Regions from separate parts of the Homo sapiens genome. Here region 2 is linked to region 1. The links are contacts of gene promoters, found by promoter capture Hi-C in blood cells and fetal thymus (Javierre and others, 2016). All regions are on one chromosome and are shown on one strand. Each heading gives the region's core, a stretch centred on a gene start or on the middle of the fragment in contact. The rest is flanking DNA. Distances are from core to core; before and after follow the strand shown. Region 1 holds the start of CD200R1L-AS1 (CD200R1L antisense RNA 1). Region 2 overlaps NEPRO-AS1 (NEPRO antisense RNA 1).

The links. The method cuts DNA at HindIII sites, captures the fragments that hold promoters and counts their contacts. A CHiCAGO score of 5 or more calls a contact.
Region 2: a contact is called between a fragment that was not itself captured here and the fragment with the promoter of CD200R1L-AS1 in region 1, in 1 of 17 cell types (total CD8 T cells). The highest score is 5.3, in total CD8 T cells.

The regions. Positions count from the first base shown.
Region 1 is chr3:112,800,505-112,806,656 of GRCh38, reverse strand. CD200R1L-AS1 (CD200R1L antisense RNA 1) reads right to left here and starts at 4,179. Exons shown (of 3, transcript NR_149027.1): 1 at 4,009-4,179. The HindIII fragment of the contact is 7,448 bases long and covers 3,035-6,152 here.
Region 2 is chr3:113,040,340-113,046,051 of GRCh38, reverse strand. All of the region lies in intron 1 of NEPRO-AS1 (NEPRO antisense RNA 1), which reads right to left. It also overlaps the pseudogene DNAJB1P2. Among named protein-coding and RNA genes, the nearest start is that of RMP64, 24 kb to the right of the region's middle. The HindIII fragment of the contact is 1,888 bases long and covers 1,474-3,361 here.

The DNA.
Region 1 (6,152 bases), core at 2,930-5,429:
CAACAACAACAACAACAACAACAAAAAACACGCCATTTCTATTTCTGTACAGTATTCTACTGGTAACACAAGTCATTCCTAATCAGTGTAGAAAAGAATTACATTGGGGCATGAACACCAGGAGGAGAGGATCACTGGAAGCTGGCAGACTTAAGCCAAAGCAAAAGAGAAATTTGTGAATTATCTAGTTCATTTCACAAAGGTAGTGGATTCAAATGGATCCACTACCCATGTGACTCTGGGATATATAGACACAAAGGAGGTTATCATAATCACTTGATTTGAAGCCCAAAAGCTTTGTTGAATCCATTAAATTATAATGATTAAACAAAACCCAGAAATTCAAATGTGTCACAAAAAGAGTCAAGAATTTTTTTTAACTAAGGCCAATTTGGAATTTCTTTATTGAAAGATACTTTCTGATCCTCTTCCAAAAATTGTCAGAATAAAATGAGAAATTAGAAAATTAAGAAGATTTGCTCTTTTTGAGCATCATTTGGCTGCTCGGAAAGTTTTTAAAGTATTTTAAAGTATTAGATTCTTTTCATCTAGAATTGTGTTTCATCATGCAGTTTTAGACAATGATGCTTAAAAGATAAAGATCATTGTTTTGCATGCTTTAGGACAAGTCTTAGTCTTTTTCTTGTTTAATCTCATGAGTTTAACTCAGTTTCTTCTCATTCTGCTGCTGCTCTCACAAGATCAACTGAGAAATGGAGAGAAATTTGACAGGGTTCTCTTTCTTGGCTGTAAGTAAAATTATTTGTATATATGCCTGTCTTAGTCTGTTTGGGCTGCTATAACTGCTATAACAGAATACCATAAACTGTGTGGCTATAAACAACAGAAACTTATTTCTCACAGTTCTGAGGGCTGGGAAGCCCAAGAGCAAGAATCCAGCAGGTTCAGTGTCTGAGGGCTTGCTTCCTGGTTCATGAGCAGCCATCTTCTTGCTGTGTCCTCTCCAGGAGAAGGGGCAATGGGGCTCTACAGAGTCTCTTTTATAAGAGACTCTGCTTTCATAACCTAGTCACCTCCCAAAGGCACTACCTCCTAATACTATCACAATGGAGGTTAGGATTTCAACACATGAATTTTAGGGGGACACAAAGAGCCTACAGCATGTGTCTCTTTGGGTTTAAATAAATAACATCACATTTAAGATGAAAAGAAGAAAAGAAAGAAAATCCGTTCCAATAACTAAATTCTTCGGGGCAGAGACAATGGTTTACCGTCTGATGTGAGAGGCGTTCTAGTCCAGGAAAAGCTGAGGAATTTGCTGAGTTCAATCGTATATCAATCATTTCAGCACTGCAAATGGGCTACAAACTAAGGGTGGAGGCAAGACATAGTAGAAGGTCCTGTGAAATTTGATAGTTACAGAGTTATAAGGAGATCCCTTTGAACCAAGAGGAACATTTAGCTGGAACCTCTGCCAGCTGTATGCTGGAGCTAGCTCTTGATAGGTTGAAAGATTTATTATTAAATATTCAGGATATTTGTAAGCTGATCATTAAACCATTGGTAGCTGGAAGTAGGACATAGTAAGAATACTTACACCACACTGCAAATCAGGGTTCCCTTTTTACCCATCACAATAAAGAAGCAACTAATCAACATATCACAGGACCTGTAGGAGGTATATGATGGGGATGTCTTAGAAGATGGTCCTATGATCTACAGTTTACAACAACCTAGTGGTGCGAGTAGTGGTGGAGAAAGCTGAACATCACTGGAGACAAAGCTGGCTCGGCCAACTGAAGGCAATGCTCACAGGACAGAGAAAATTAGTCCAGGGAGAAATTCAGGGATTAAAGCCAAGAACACTTTTTTTAAAAGTAAGAAAGATGACCACAGACCGGAGTTGGATGGTATATAGCATAAAAAGCAATTTGGGATTTAAAAAGGAGACTGGAGCCAATACTTATAGAGGCATCTGCTTCACATACCTTAATCATTTTATCAATCTGCTGAGGCAGGTAGGTGTTAACGTTTAATCTATTTTACAGTCAAGAACATTGAAACTCCAATATTAAGTGGTGGAGACAAGATCCTAACTCAGATTGTTCCACAACATCATTATCTCTTACATCTTATTTTTGTAGAAAGTAGAAAAGGGGAAGAAAGAACAAGAGGAAGAAAAGAAGAAGAAGAAGAAGAAGAAGGAGAAGGAGAAGGAGAAGGAGAAGGAGAAGGAGAAGGAGAAGGAGAAGAAGAAGAAGAAGAAGAAGAAGAAGAAAGAAGAAAGAAGAAGAAGAAGAAGAAGAAGAAGAAGAGGAAGGAGACATAGTAGTGGAGTTGTTCTAGGACCAGAAATCTCCAGAAGGAGCAGGAAAGTGTCTGCAAAATTAGTGAAGAATGACATAAAATTCACTGGAGGAATATCTGAGAAGAAGGAAACTTCTTCACCCAAAGAGGAAGACAGGGTGACCTAAGAAATGGGTCTCGTAACTAAGTTTCTGCTGCAGAGTCAGGAAAGTGTGTGTGCAGATAGGAGAACTGCAGTCTCAGAGGGAACAAAGGAACATTTTTATAAATTAGACCAAAGCTATCATGTATAGTTGAGAGGTCCATACAGCTATTCTACATTCCTGCTGAAGGGCCTGAAGAAAATTGGTAGGGATTTTTCACTGGCTTGAGACTGACTGAAGGGAAAGTGTGCTCCCCTTCAACTTCACCTTACTCCTATTACCTTTTTTGGGACCTCCAGTTCTTCAATCTGGTACTCTTTGAGCATGAAGAACGAGCATTGAGGAATGATATTATGTACTCCTGGAGGGCAGGAGGTTGGCCTTCTTATCTGGTATGTTTCTTAACAGCATGACATATTGGATGAACAAAAATTACGTTTAAAATAAATATGTTGAACAGACAACTAAAGTCTCTTCTAAAAATAAAATTGGCTTCAGGTTCTATAGTTCTACCTCTGTGGTCTCATTGCACAAACATATGTTTTAGATCTTAGGCTATTAAAGACATCTGTCCTGACCTATTATTTATAACCAATGGAAATGAAAAATGCAACCCAAAAGCTTAAAGAATTTGCCTGAGGACTATAAATGGAGCACATGCAAGCTGTTAGATGGCCAAGTTGAGGACCCAGAAATAAGCACCAATTATTCAATCAGACGATGTGGTTCATGACCCCATAGGGGACTCTTTCCTTCCTGCTGTGTAACTCAAAGGATCTGAGACTGTGGGCCCAGACTAAGTCAGAACTTCAAGTGTTGTTTTCTTCTTGTTTTCATTCTGGCTCAAAATCCAGAGGATGTTGAAGCATGGGCAGCCTCCTATCTCTCTCTTTCCAGGAGTAGCTACAACTCTTTTGAAGTTTGTGATGCAGGTTAAACTGTTCTGTTCCTTTGCCTAGGCAAAGAAAAGTACTATCAGGTGAAATGAGATAGCTGTTGAAATTCAGTATTCACATGTTTCCTAGCTCAGAATGCTGAAAAATAAAGTATGAAAGATTCCAATCAAAGGAAGAGATTGAATCACCTTCTGTTCCAGATGGGGCCTCACAATAGTTACAACTGCTTGTTCTGGACACATTTGTCCATCCTCGCTTACAGATGCAGCACCATCCATGAAATGCTTGAGACATCCAGGAGGTGGGCAGTGGATAAACAGAATATATTCATTATTGTAACTGAGAATGCTTTTATTCCCCCTGTCTCTCCCACAGAGTTGGTATAAACATATAAAAGACTCTTGAGTTTGAACTCGTATGTGCCCAGTCTCAACTTTAACAATTTATTTCCCTTTATTTCATAATTAAAAAACTGAAAAAAACTAAAGGTCTGACAATGGTTCTAAATTTTTTTCCTCTTTCAGGACAGTGATAGGGAAAAAAACCCACTAGAATTTGTTAATGAAATACTGCCATTATAGAAACCTAACTGACCAAAAACCAGAAGATCTGTGTTCTAATGCTAGGTTTTAGGTACTTAGCTTTCCCACACCTTAATTTACTCATCTGTAAAAGGAGGAGTTTAGATTAGATAATCTTACCTAAGTTACTTCTCCTCTAAGATCCTATGTTTCTGTGGCATCTGGGTATAACTGCAGAACTTTAGAAGAAAAGTCTGGACCCAAAGGTAGGGGTTTTAGATCTGACTTTGTACATTTTGTGGTTTTATTTCCTCATTTCTAAGAAATGGAGATTAGTGTCTATCATTTGGTGACAAGTGTAATGTGAGATTAGATATTTCCTTGTGTAAGTAATTTGCAAGTAAAATGGTCTATACAGATGGAAAAAAGTCCCCTTCCCAAGATATTAAAGCATATTAAAAAGCTAGAGTAATTAAGCAAATGTGGCATCTATGCAGGAAAATGCAAATAGATTCAAAGAATAAAGTCTAGAGAAGACTTATGTATATATTGACAGGTAGTTTATTGAAGAAAAATACACATAAGCAATACACTCATGAAAAGGTAATATATATTTCTACTAATCTAATAAATACAAATAAAAGCCACAATAAGATAACATTTTGTTCTCATTAAGCAAAAATGAAATATTTGCTATCAAATCTTGGTGAAAGTACAGGGAAATGGGTTCCATGATGCACTGCTGATGAGGGAATAAACTGGGACAGGCATGTGGAAAGGTAATTTGTTAGGGTTATAGCTTTTAATGTGTATATCCTAAGATCAGTAATTACTTTTTTCATATCTACACATGTACCTAAGAAGGTATGAACAAATATATTCATTGCAACAGTATCTATAAGAGCAAAATATTTGAAATGACTCACTTGTAACTCAGTAGGAAGGTGGTTAAACAAAAGGTAGCACATTCCAGCCTGACCAACATGATGAAACCCATCTCTACTAAAAATACAAAAATTAGCCAGGCTGTGGTGGCATGGTGTCTATAATCCTAGCTACTGGGGAGGCTAAAGCAGAAGAACTGCTTGAACTCAGGAGGCGGAGGTTGCAGTGAGCCTAGGTCGCGCCACTGCACTCCAGCCTGGGTGACAGAGGGAGACCTTGTCTTAAAAAAAAAAAAAAAAAAAAGTAGCACATTCATGCTACAGAGTGGTATACAACAGTTACAAAGAATGAGGTGGCTATCTGCAAACTGGCATGGAATTCCCCCTTAATACACACTGTAGAGTAAAAAGCTAGTCATAGAATAATTTGTATTATTTATGTACAAATACACACTTGTGAAACTATATAGCTCTATAGCACACATATGTGCTAAGAAATTCAGAGAAAAGAGTTCTGGAAGGATGCACAGTGAACTGGTAATAGTAGTCACCTTTAAGAAGGGGAGTAGTGATTAAGGAGACATAAACTTTATCCATAGAACTTATTTTTTTAGTGAGATTGTATTCATGTATAACATAAACATTAAAGAAATTTTTTTTGTTTGTTTTTTAAAGGGAGATAAGACAATAAAGTTGGCTATTTCCCATTCAGCCAAACTAAAATCTAACAAGAATTATTTTCCTCCAAGCCACATTATGTAAATTTCCATGCATACCCCATGTGCTAGAATACCACGCAACTCACTGAGTGTGAACCCTTCAAGAACTCAGGCTATTACAGGCCTTATCTTTTGATTTACCCAACAATGCAGCCAAGTGGCTATAACATTTGATTTCTAGAGTATTCAGAAACTGTTACTCAGATTCTGAGTAAAGGTAGTTCTGGGATTTAAACTATTATGGAATTGTTTCATCTGATTGAACTTGCAAGCATAAAGTCACAGAAGACAGTGGTGTTTCTCCAGAGAAATAATTATCCTAATCATTACTGTTACTAGTGTACTGTTGTGGAGTTGCTGTTTGCCTTTACATATAAAGTGCTCTCTTAGAGAAGACTAGAATTCCAAAGCCCAGCTAGAATTCTTCCACTGAATTTTTAAAAGACTATCTATTCCATCAGAAGTTAGTAATTTGAGAAAACACAAATACATGCTTAACAATGGTAATTACTTTTAGAGACAGAAAGCATGCAGAATGTGAAGGTTGGGGATACACAAAGATGAAATTTGTTAGCCTTCAACAATCCTAGAAAGTAGAGAGAGAAGATACTATGATGCCCCATTTTGTACATTAGGAAAATAAGACTCATTATGTCACATTGCAAGAATTCTATCAAAACATCTCATGTATCTCATAAATATATACAGCTACTATGTACCT
Region 2 (5,712 bases), core at 1,168-3,667, 240 kb before region 1:
ATGTAGAAAGAGGTAGACATGGGAGACTTTTCATTTTGTTCTGTACTAAGAAAAATTCTTCTGCCTTGGGATCCTGTTGATCTGTGACCTTACCCCCAACCCTGTGCTCTCTGAAACATGTGCTGTGTCCACTCAGGGTTGAATGGATTAAGGGTGGTGCAAGATGTGCTTTGTTAAACAGATACTTGAAGGCAGCATGCTCGTTAAGAGTCATCGCCACTCCCTAATCTCAAGTACCCAGGGACACAAACACTGCGAAAGGCCGCAGGGTCCTCTGCCTAGGAAAACCAGAGACCTTTGTTCACTTGTTTATCTGCTGACATTCCCTCCACTATTGTCCTGTGACCCTGCCAAATCCCCCTCTGCGAGAAACACCCAAGAATGATCAATTAAAAAAAAAAAAAAAAGAAGCTATAGACAGCTCCTAAATGCCATGTAAATGACTTTCTGTCTTTCAGGCGTCTTTTGAAATGTGAGAGTTCATAACATTTCAGATACTGTCAATTCTTGATTTACCTCTGCCCTTTACACATGAGATTTCTGCCTTTTTCCTCAAAATACTCTTCTCTCACCAAGCCAAAAACAGTAAAACAAGAGAGGAGGAATAACTGTTTTATTGGCTCTCCCTGTCACTATATTCTCCTTAAGTCACCAATGCTACTCATTTCATGTCATACTCCATTCGGGCTGCTACAACAAAAATACCATAAACTGGGTGGCTCATAAGCAACAAATATTTATTTCGTACAGTTCTGGAGGCTGGGAAGTCCAAGATCAAGCTGCCCACAGATTTGGTATCTGGGGAGGGTTCATTTCCTGCTTCATAGTTGGTGCCAGGGTTCATTTCCTGCTTCATAGTTGGTGCCTTCTCACTGTGTCCCCAAAAGGTGAAAGGGGCTAATGAGCTACCTTGGGTCTATCTTACAACGGCACCAATTCCATTCATGAGGGCTCTTACCTTTGTGACCTAGTTACCTCCCCAAAGGCCCACCTCCTAATATCATCACCTTGGAGGTTAGGATTTCAACGTAAGGATTTTGGAGGATATAATATTCAGATCACAGCTTTTGATGAATTTCTTTTTTTTTTTTGAGACGGAGTCTCACTCTGTTGCCCAGGCTGGAGTGCAGTGTTGTGATCTCAGCTTACTGCAACTTCTGCCTCCTGGGTTCAAGCAATTATCTTGCCTCAGCCTCCGAGTAGCTGGGATTACAGGCACGTGACACCATGCCCAGCTGATTTTTGTATTTTTAGTAGAGACGGGGGTTTCACCATGTTGGCCAGGCTGGTCTTGAACTCCTGACCTCAGGTGATCTGCCCACCTCAGCCTCCCAAAGTGCTGGGATTACAGGTGTGAGCCACCACACCTGGCTTGATGAATATTTATTGTGTACCTATTATATGCCAGATATACTGCTGGGTACTAAAAGTCAATAATTAGCAAGCATACATGGTCCTTTTTCTTAAAAAGCTTTTACTGGCTGTAGACAGCCAATTAAGCCATAGAATACAACCCTTAATGTATAATAAGAAGAGCAGTACACCACAAATATCAACCTAGCCTTTGGTATAAGGCAATCTGGATTGAAATCTGGGCTCTGTTGAATACTTGCCATGTGACCTTGGGCTACTTAACCTCTTTACACTCAGTTTTTGAAATAAATATATTCCTAGTTCACCTAATGGTCCCAGCAGGTGTTCCTGGTGTGCAATGGCTTTTCTCCAGGCCATAATTCCTTCTTGTGATTTTGCCATCCCCTAGGGCTTCATCCTCACAGCTGAAGGGGAAATAGAGAGTGTGAAAGAGGGACAGATGTTTTTTAAAACGCACTGGTCTGGAAATGGCATCCATTGGCTAGAACTCAGTCATTTGGCCAAATGTGGTTCAAGAAAGGCTAGAAAAAGTAGCTCAGCTGTGCACCCAGGAATAAGAGGAGAACATGGATCTTGCTGAACACCTAGAAGTATTTGACACAACCTTTGTAAGCCACGTTAAGTAGTTCAGATTTATCATGGAATTAATAAGCCAGTGAAAGCAAAGGAGTAAAATCATCATATTTTTCATTTTTGGAAAATCATTCTATCAGCAGTGAAAAGAATGGCTTGGGTGATTGATTAGATAACTGAGTGGGTAGTAATGTTATTCAGTGAGATACACGAAGAGGTGTGAGTTTTCAGGGAGGAGAGTGGGAGGTGAGTTCAACTGAAGACACATTGAATATGAGGTGCTTCAAGATCATCAGATATACAGAGATGTGCTCTAGTTACATACCCTGAAGTCTAAAGTTCAGGAAAGAAATCTGAAATAGAGGTATACCTTTGTGAATTTTCAACTTATAGATGGAGCTTTGGGAGTTTGTAAAACAAACAAACAAACAAACAAAAAAAACCAAAACAAAAAAACACCAATACAAAGGAAAGGACAGAGGAAGAGGAACCAGCAAAAGAAACTGAGCAGGAGCATCCTGTAGAGGGAAAAGTGGCCAAATATGCTGCCACACATGCCACAGGAAAAGATTATTTCAAGGAGGCAGTGGTCAACAATACCAAGCAAAACACTGACTTTTATAAAAAGGAGGTTGTGGGTGAATGTTCTGGTTATTCTGTGTATCCACCATTCTCCCCTCTTCCCTGTGTCCCTGAAGGCTGAGCTCTGTAGACTTTATCACTTAGGCTCCCTTGCCCTCTAGCTTTCAGCTGGGTTTGGCCAATGGAAAGCAATGACAGATGGGATGAATGAAACAGAGAGAGCAGAATATTTTTCCCCAGTTCCATACAGCTTTAGTGTCTTATCTTAGGCAGTAAGTCCACCACTCCTTGACATCAATTCCTACCAGGTGTCCTCTTCTCCCCGGTTCTCACTCTTACTGTTCTATTTCCTCCTCTTGTCTCTTTGGCCCTAGGAATGATAATGGCTTCCTACTGTCACTGCGCTTGGAGTGCCTCACGATTCCATTTTTGATGCCTTCATCCTGCCTATATCTCTGTAAGCAGCTTCTTCCCTTGAACCATGTGGGATGAATTCTGCTTTTTGCTGGTATGCTGACTGATCTTGTAATATTAGTATTTAGAAACTAAATTGCAATTGGTAGAAGGGTGAGTATTTGGTGAAGTAGGAGTTAGGCTTTCAAGGAGTTTGGCTGTGGAATTCATCATCTCTCTCTACTTTTCTGAAAGGAGAAAGGAAGGAGGAAAGGAAGGAAAGGGAGATAGGACAAGTGGAGAAACCTTGAGTGGAAAGAGTTTGTTTTTTCCAAGATGGAAGAGACCTGTTAATGTTTAAGTACTCATAGGAAAGACCCAATAGAAAGAATTTATTGTTGATGTAAGAAAGTAGGGGACTTATTAATTGCTTGAAGCTTATGAGAAGGCAGAAGGATTTGGGACACAGGATGCAAATGGGAGGATTTAACTTGGGTGAGGGGAGGGTCACCTTATCTGTTGTAAGTGAAAGAATGGAAGACAGGATGAGTGGGAGACAAGTAAGTTTGTAGGGTTGGTGTCAGAAAGTTGAGAGAGTTCTTATCTAAGGGTTCTGCTTTTTCTGGAATCCCAGAACATTCAGAGAGTAGAATTATTATAGAGTTGGGCATTTGCCTGGCAAATCTCATGGAAGTACAATGGGGCGAGGGAATTGAGAATGCTGGCAAGAAATGGACTGGGGACAAATAAAGATGAAGGTGGGGGTACTGATGAGAGAGAAAAGGGTGCTGGGGACTGGTGATTCAGTGCAGTTTAAGATCAGATTTATAGGGTGTAACTTGAGTAAGAAAGTTGGAAAATAGGAAACTATTGTCAGAAATGGAAATGTCTGAATTCATGATTTCAGAGAAGGAACAACTCTGATTGATGCTAAGATTTGGGATATGGCTGGAGAGTGCATGCCTGCAGTGAGGTCGATATGAAGGTTACTGGAGATGAGGACACTAAAGGAAGTGGGATGATGGAGGACTTGGGATGGAGAGGAACCAAAGTCTCTAAGATGGCTGCTTCCACAAGGGGAAAAGTACATGAGGAAAACATTTCTTCCCCATCCTAGGGGTCCCTGGCATCTTCCTAGTCATCCTAATGTAACATCCCATCACCTGTCTCCTTCAGGACCATGCCTGGTGGGAGCCCCTACCCCAGGCCTGGAAGCAGCTCCCTTCCACCTCCGTGCCCCCACCATGGCAAGGCTCATTGCTGAGGAAGTCCCGGCTCCCACTTTCCACATGGTGAGGAAACTGGTTCTAGTCAAGACAAGATCTGGACCATTGAAGTGAAAACACGGTGGAAAGAGGGACCAAAATGACCTTCCCCAAGCAAGGAAGGAGACCAAACCTCTAAAAACATTCCAGCTGACATCGTCTTTGTTTTAAAGGACAAGCCACATAGTATTTTTAAGAGAAATGGCTCTGATGTCATCTATCCTGCCAGGATCAGCATTTGGAAGGCTCTGTGTGGCTGCACAGTGAACATCCCACTCTGGACGGAAAGACCATACCCATCGTTTTCAAGGAAGTCATCAGGCCTGGCATGCAGTGAAAAGCCCCTGGAGAAGACTTCCCTCTCCCTAAAGTGCCCAAGAAATGTGGGGACTTCATTATTGAGTTTGAAGTGATCTTCCCCTAATGGATTCCCCAGATGTCAAGAACTGTACTTGAGCAGGTTCTTCCAATATAGCTACCTGCATTCCCCAAGGACTAACCAGGAAGCTTTCCAGAGCTCAAGGATTTCTGGACCGTTCTCCAGTTGACCATGAGAGGACAGGTGGGCCCAGGGAAGTCTTTCAGACTGCCGAATGTTTTCCATGGACTATATTACAATCTTTCAAAGTCATGCACTAGAGTGGGGGAAAAAAAAAGCTCCCACTTTGGCTGCCAAGGCTTGTTGGGGTGGAGGGTAACACAAGATGAGGAAAGATATGCTCCTGCTATCTTGCCCTTGACCATGGAAAGCACTTTTCTGTAGCAATTCTGGGATCCAGAGTTGGTCTCTATGGAATGACTGGTAGGAATATCGTGTCTGGTTGCAGTAGAGTGGCTTTGGTGGGCTGGCCCTGGATCTTTAACATCATCCTTTACATTAATTTTGTCAGAGAATGCATTCAGCTTCAAACAATGGACTTAGAAATAGCTTTTGTAAATTAGGGATTGTGTTAAATTGCATGCTGGCCTCTGAATACCTCAGAAAATAGATTGCTATCAACAGGTGTTTCTTCTCTATGTTTCTATGAGGTTCTAGGAGTTGAGATAGGAGATGGATTGTCAACAATGATCCTTGCTAAATGACCACTTTGTGTTTATCACTGAGATATTTTAACATTTAAAAAATAATGTCATCTTATAGAGGTAATTTATGTTCACTGAACAATTCAGAAAATTAAAAGAATAGAAAATAAAACTCTTCTGTATTCCTACTAACTGGAAATAACTATTATTAATATCTTAGCATCATTTTTTACTCTGGGTACACATCCCTATTTGCCCCTTTCCCAACTTGGAGTCATCATATATAACCAGTTTTATTATCTTCTTTATTCATTTAATAAAATGTGAGCACTGTGGAGTCCTGTTAAGATGAGTAAGCAACAATGGAGAAGGGGTCCCATGTCGGGGAGAACAATTGTTCTGAGACAGCTAACCACAAACAACTGCTGGTACAACTACCTCACTCTGCACGTAGCCCCAGCAGTATGACCTCGTTTTACACATATCCCTTCCAGCACAACCC